Regions from separate parts of the Homo sapiens genome. Here region 1 is linked to region 2. Evidence: promoter capture Hi-C in human tissues and cell types (Jung and others, 2019). All regions are on one chromosome and are shown on one strand. The core of a region is centred on a gene start or on the middle of the fragment in contact, and the rest is flanking DNA. Distances in the headings are between cores, read along the strand shown. Region 1 holds the start of CCR10 (C-C motif chemokine receptor 10). Region 2 overlaps EZH1 (enhancer of zeste 1 polycomb repressive complex 2 subunit).

The links. Contacts are between HindIII fragments. The study calls those that stand out against the background at their distance.
Region 1: a contact is called between the fragment with the promoter of CCR10 here and a fragment that was not itself captured in region 2, in 1 of the 25 tissues and cell types used here (mesendoderm cells).

The regions. Positions count from the first base shown.
Region 1 is chr17:42,680,536-42,683,235 of GRCh38, reverse strand. CCR10 (C-C motif chemokine receptor 10) reads left to right here and starts at 1,393. Exons shown (of 2, transcript NM_016602.3): 1 at 1,393-1,436; 2 at 2,619-2,700. The coding sequence starts at 1,413. CNTNAP1 (contactin associated protein 1) reads right to left here and starts at 705. Exons shown (of 24, transcript NM_003632.3): 1 at 340-705. The coding sequence starts at 406. RefSeq lists enhancers at 251-300, 561-610, 554-1,172, 2,391-2,700 and a silencer at 1,711-2,005. The HindIII fragment of the contact is 6,302 bases long and covers 1-2,700 here.
Region 2 is chr17:42,717,518-42,720,289 of GRCh38, reverse strand. It overlaps EZH1 (enhancer of zeste 1 polycomb repressive complex 2 subunit), which reads left to right. Exons shown (of 21, transcript NM_001991.5): 7 at 1-17; 8 at 1,083-1,185; 9 at 1,673-1,836; 10 at 2,223-2,314. Among named protein-coding and RNA genes, the nearest start is that of MIR6780A, 11 kb to the right of the region's middle. The HindIII fragment of the contact is 8,991 bases long and covers 1-2,772 here.

The sequences.
Region 1 (2,700 bases), core at 144-2,643, 37 kb after region 2:
CCCTGGCAAAACCTTAATCCTAGTATCGGTCACCAGTATACACTTATCCCCCAGCCCTAGCCTCAAACCCAGGCACCAGCTCCTGCTTGGATCCCAACCCCAAATCCCTGCCCGCTGACTTCATCCTCTTCCCAGAGCCCAGCCCCAGCCCCGGGCGCGCGCGGCAGCCTCAGAGCTGCAATGCGGAGCGCGGGGGAGAGGCAGGAAAAGATGAGAGCCAGCGGGCGCGCGCCGGCCGGGAAGGACCCGCGACCACCCAGCCGCAATGCGGTTCGGGGCCGCCCTGCAGGCTCTGGACTCCTGGGCCCAACCCCACCTGCCTCCAAGCCCAACACTCACAGTAGCCCCAGCCCTCGGCTCCTGAGACCGCGGCGAGCAGGATGCAGAAGAGCCGGAGATGCATCATGCAGGGCTGACGGTCCCGGCAGCCGCCTCCCTGTGAACGGCTCCGGCTAGGGCTCGAGTTCTGGCTTGGGCTCCAAGCTCTCCTCCTGGGGTTTGCAGCAGACCGCTCTCTCCTCCTTACCCACCCTTCCCTCCCTCTCTCCTTTCGCCCCCAAGCGCTCTGTCTCTCCTCTCTCTTTTCTCTCTCTCTCTCTCTGGTTCCTGGTCCTCCGCTCTTCTCTCTCTATCCTCTCCTTTCCACCCTCTTTCCTCTCACCTCCCCCCTTCCCCAGCCTCTGTCTCCTGGCACGCGCCGGTTTCCCGGACCCCGCGCAAGCGCGTGCCTCAGCCCTGCTGCGAAAGGGCGGGGGTAGAGAGCCTCTCGCCACCGGGAAAACCCCAAGTAACCCGAGGCTGCCCGGGACTAGGGCCACAGGAGTGAGGACAGGGAACCTAGGGCCAGAAGCATCCTGAAAATTTCAAGAAAAGGGAGGTGGTTTGGGGGAGGGGTGCCTGGAAATGGAATGAAGGGTAAGTAAAAGAATCTTAACATTTTCGGAAGGCAAATTATGCTCTAGGAGTGGTGCTGGGCACTGTGAATTTAGCATTTTTGCCCTACTCCACTTTGCAGATGAAAAACCTCAGGCTCAGAGAGGTCAAGAAACTTAGTCAATATCACACAGCAAATGATTATATTCCGAAGCCCGTTCTTTCTTCACTGACAAAGACAGTAAATTATTTTTTCTTTCTTTCGTTCATTCTTTTTTCTTTCTTTCCTTCCTTTTTTTCTTTCTTTCTTTCTTTCTTTCCTCTTTCCTTCCTTTCTTCTTCTTTTTTTTTTTTTCGTAAAATCCAGATCCTGCACAAGAGAGTGAAGTCTTTTGGAGGAGGTGGAATGGGAAAGTGACCCCGTAGACCCTAATCCCCACCTCCCTCTCGGCCCCTCTCCCCGCCTCTTCCTTCCTGTCCCGCTAGTAGTTTAACTTCTACCCCCTGTGGCTATACCTCAGAAACCTGTGTAGCCAGAGATGGGGACGGAGGCCACAGAGCAGGTGGGAGTGGGGGCAGGGAGGGGGAGAAGGGTTACAGAGAGGGAGGAGACAGGGAAGGAATGGGATTCCCCACCTGGCAATGGGCCTCTGCCATCCTATGGCTTATTCAGGATTCTTGGCGCTGTCTCAGACTAGGGGTCCTCCAGATAAATGGGCTGGTGGTGTGAGGCTGGGGTTGTGGGACAGGGACTAGGGCTGAGGGGAAAGGCGGGTTGAACCTAGAGGTCCAGGGTCCCACCTGGGCCCTGAAAACCTGAGTCCCAACCCTGGAGACCCCCTTGGCATGAGTGGTTCAGTGTGCTGGTATTGGAGGTACAGGGAAGGTGGGTATGGAAGGGAAAGAAGAGAAACAGAAACCCACTCCAGACGGAGGTTGGAGTCCAGGGCTCAGGTCTGAGGCAAAGCCTGCATATGGGCATCCTTCCAGGAGAGGGCGCTGCAAAGGGAACTGAAGCTGTAGGATTTATTAATAATACAAACTTTGGGCTGGGCGTGGTAGCTCAGGCCTGTAATCCCAGTACTTTGGGAGGCCAAGGTGGGCGGATCACCTGAGGTCAGGAGTTCGAGACCATCCTGGCCAACATGGTGAAACCCCATCTCTACTAAAAATACAAAAATTAGCTGGGCGTGGTGGTGGGCGCCTGTAGTCCCAGCTACTTGGGAGGCTGAGGCAGGAGAATCTCTTGAACCCGGAGGCGGAGGTTGCAGTGAGCCGAGATCGTGCCACTGCACTCCAGCCTGGGCGACAGAGCAAGACTCTGTCTCCAATAATAATAATAATAAATAATAATAATAATACAAACTTTGTATTATGGCCTTTGGAGAACACAGGTTCTCCCCATCCATTATTTTCCATATTGCCATCTTCACAGCAAACCTTGAGAGGTGGGCTGGTCAGGATTTATAATCTCAACATTACAGGTTAGGTAACTGAGGTCTAGAAAGAGCAAGTGGCTTGCTCAAGGTCACCCAGGAAGCTGGAAGCAGAGGTAGGAGGGGTGCAAGGGAAGCCAAGGCCTGCTGAAGGTGTGCTAGGAAGAGTCTGGAGAAGAGCTTATGTCTCCCCGTGTACTGTTACATCTGGCCACACAGGAGCTCTCAGCTTGGAAGGCAAGTGTGGGCGGGGGAGTTGTGTGGTCAGATGTGTCTCATAAGATCCCGCCTCTCATTTGACCCTCCCAGGTTTCCTGGGGCCATTACTCTGGGGATGAAGAGGACGCATACTCGGCTGAGCCACTGCCGGAGCTTTGCTACAAGGCCGATG
Region 2 (2,772 bases), core at 234-2,733:
GCGACATGCTATTGAAGGTACGTAGCACTGGCTCCCTTATTCCTTTTTTAAAGTGACAGGGATAGGGAAGAAGGAAGAACTGGAAAGATTTGTTGCCTATTAAAGGCTGTTGGTGCTTCTTGTTGGTTCACTTAAAAGGAGAACATGATCATTAAGTGATAGCTTCAGATAGCTGTGACTTGGGTGAAGAAGAAAGTAGAAGAACTGATAGAATAATCATTGCTATTCATTTCTAATTATATGTCTCATGTGAAATTGGGATCATGCCAATTTATATATATGTATATATCAAATTTTATATCCCTTTTTATTTAATCTTATGAGTACTTTTCCATGTCACTAATGTTTAATTTAAAATTTAATAGTTTAATTATACTATATGTCCAGGGACATAGTGTATTCTCTTTTATTGTATCATAATTATAGTATCAGTGTAGTTCTTCAGCATCCACTTCATGATAGGATTCTTCTATGTTCAGGCCTCTCTATGAACACTCTTTTCACCTCCAAATTCTTATTTTTATTTTTAAAATCTATTATTTATTATTTTTTTGAGACACAGTCTTGCTCTGTTACCCAAGGTGGAGTGCAGTGGCACAATCTCGGCTCACTGCAACCTCCACCTCCCTGGTTCAAGTGATTCTTGTGTGTCAGCCTTCTAAGTAGCTGGGACTATAGGCATGCACCACCATGCCCAGCTAAGTTTTGTATTTTTAGTAGAGTTGGGGTTTTACCATGTTGGCCAGGCTGGTCTCAAACTCCTGGCCTCAAGTGATCCGCTCCCCTCGGCCTCTCAAAGTACTGACTGGGATTACAGGCGTGAGCCACCTCACATCCAGATTCTAATTGGGACTGTGGATTTTGTTGTTAATATGTAGACTACTCTAACTTCCTTATTTACTGGTAGCATATATCAGATAAGTCCAGATAGCACTGATGTTTATATATCTCCAAACAATCAGTGGTTAGGTTAACAAAGCAGCTGTAATCAAAATGCTATGACAAAAGGAAAAAAGATCACACAGATTTGTTTACGTGTTCTGATAATCGCACTCAGGAGCTTTTTATCATTTCCAATTCAGGCAACAAAAAGAGTTCCAAGAAACAGTTCCCAAATGACATGATCTTCAGTGCAATTGCCTCAATGTTCCCTGAGAATGGTGTCCCAGATGACATGAAGGAGAGGTAGGGAAAGCTGTCCCACTTAGGCCATATACAGAGTGCTCGGACAAAACCTTTATTCCCTCCTAATTTTTGGTTAGTAAAAAGCTTTGTTTATGGTAAGGGCATTATGATTTGCCCGCAATTTGATTATTTCTTGCTTACTCAATTACCTCTAAATGCCCCCCTTACTATATTAAGGGTCATCGTATACTGGCTTTTGAGTGAGTCTGGGCAGAGAACATTTACTCTGCCATTTTTCTGGAGAGTTAACTCCAGCACCATCTTAACAAATCCTTCCCTCCCCTTACTTTCCAACATTTGCCCAACCCAGCATAATTACAATGGTGGACCCACTCTAGTTATCTACCATTCTCTTATCAACCAGACCTATAAAAAACACCCATCCTCCCTTGGCAGACCGTAGGTGAGCTACTGTCAGTACCCAATCTGTATTTCCTCAGTGGAGGCAGTTCCTCGGAGGAACTCTTATCTCTCTTTTCTTAAATAGGTATCGAGAACTAACAGAGATGTCAGACCCCAATGCACTTCCCCCTCAGTGCACACCCAACATCGATGGCCCCAATGCCAAGTCTGTGCAGCGGGAGCAATCTCTGCACTCCTTCCACACACTTTTTTGCCGGCGCTGCTTTAAATACGACTGCTTCCTTCACCGTGAGTGGGGCTACTCTGTTTGAAATGCTCTCCTCTCTTCCATCCCCAGCCACCATTTCCTTCTCTTTGTTCTGGTTTCTCGTATAGAGTTCCTGGCTTCTGTTCTAACGTTTTACAAAGGGCCAGTTCTATTTTCCCTTGCTCAATTATAGTGCAACATGCTTTGCATGATAGGGACAGACTAACTAGCAACTTATCTGTCCCTCAGTACCTCTTAGCTTTGAAAGCATTGTGTTGATGTCAGAAATGACTGAATTTTGTGCACCCTGATGGTAGCCGTTTATATCGAATTCTAACTCCTACAATAGCTCTCTAATTCACTTTTGTTTCTCCCCATCTTGTCAAGTGGATAGACCACTGGCAACAAGACAGTTTTTGTTTTCCAGCTTTTCATGCCACCCCTAATGTATATAAACGCAAGAATAAAGAAATCAAGATTGAACCAGAACCATGTGGCACAGACTGCTTCCTTTTGCTGGTATGTTCTTAAGCTGTTCTGGCATTATTAACTTCATTCTGGGAACACAAGCCACGTGAGCCAGTACACAGCACTCTGGGGGTCATATAGCACAAATAAAACATGGCTTTTGCTCTTAAGGAGCTCCCCAGTTACTGTGGGACCGCTCTTAAGGAACTCCCCAGACATGGTAGCACTATAAAGTTAGTCTGATGGAGTGCAGATTCGAAGATCATTAAAGGCTTGCCTGCTCTAAATATCATCTGCTTAGATTTCAGAGCCTAAAACTGTATTGTTAGAATTGGAGCAAAGTGTATGCTGGGGGGGTGGGTACACACTCTAGTTTCTTTGCTATCTTGTTATAAATGCATATAACTATGAGACGAATAGCACGTGATGATGCTGATGTCTTGTTGTGATCAACCAGATGGACCGTTCCCTGATGGACAGACCTTAAGAAGCAGCATAAATGGTCTGGC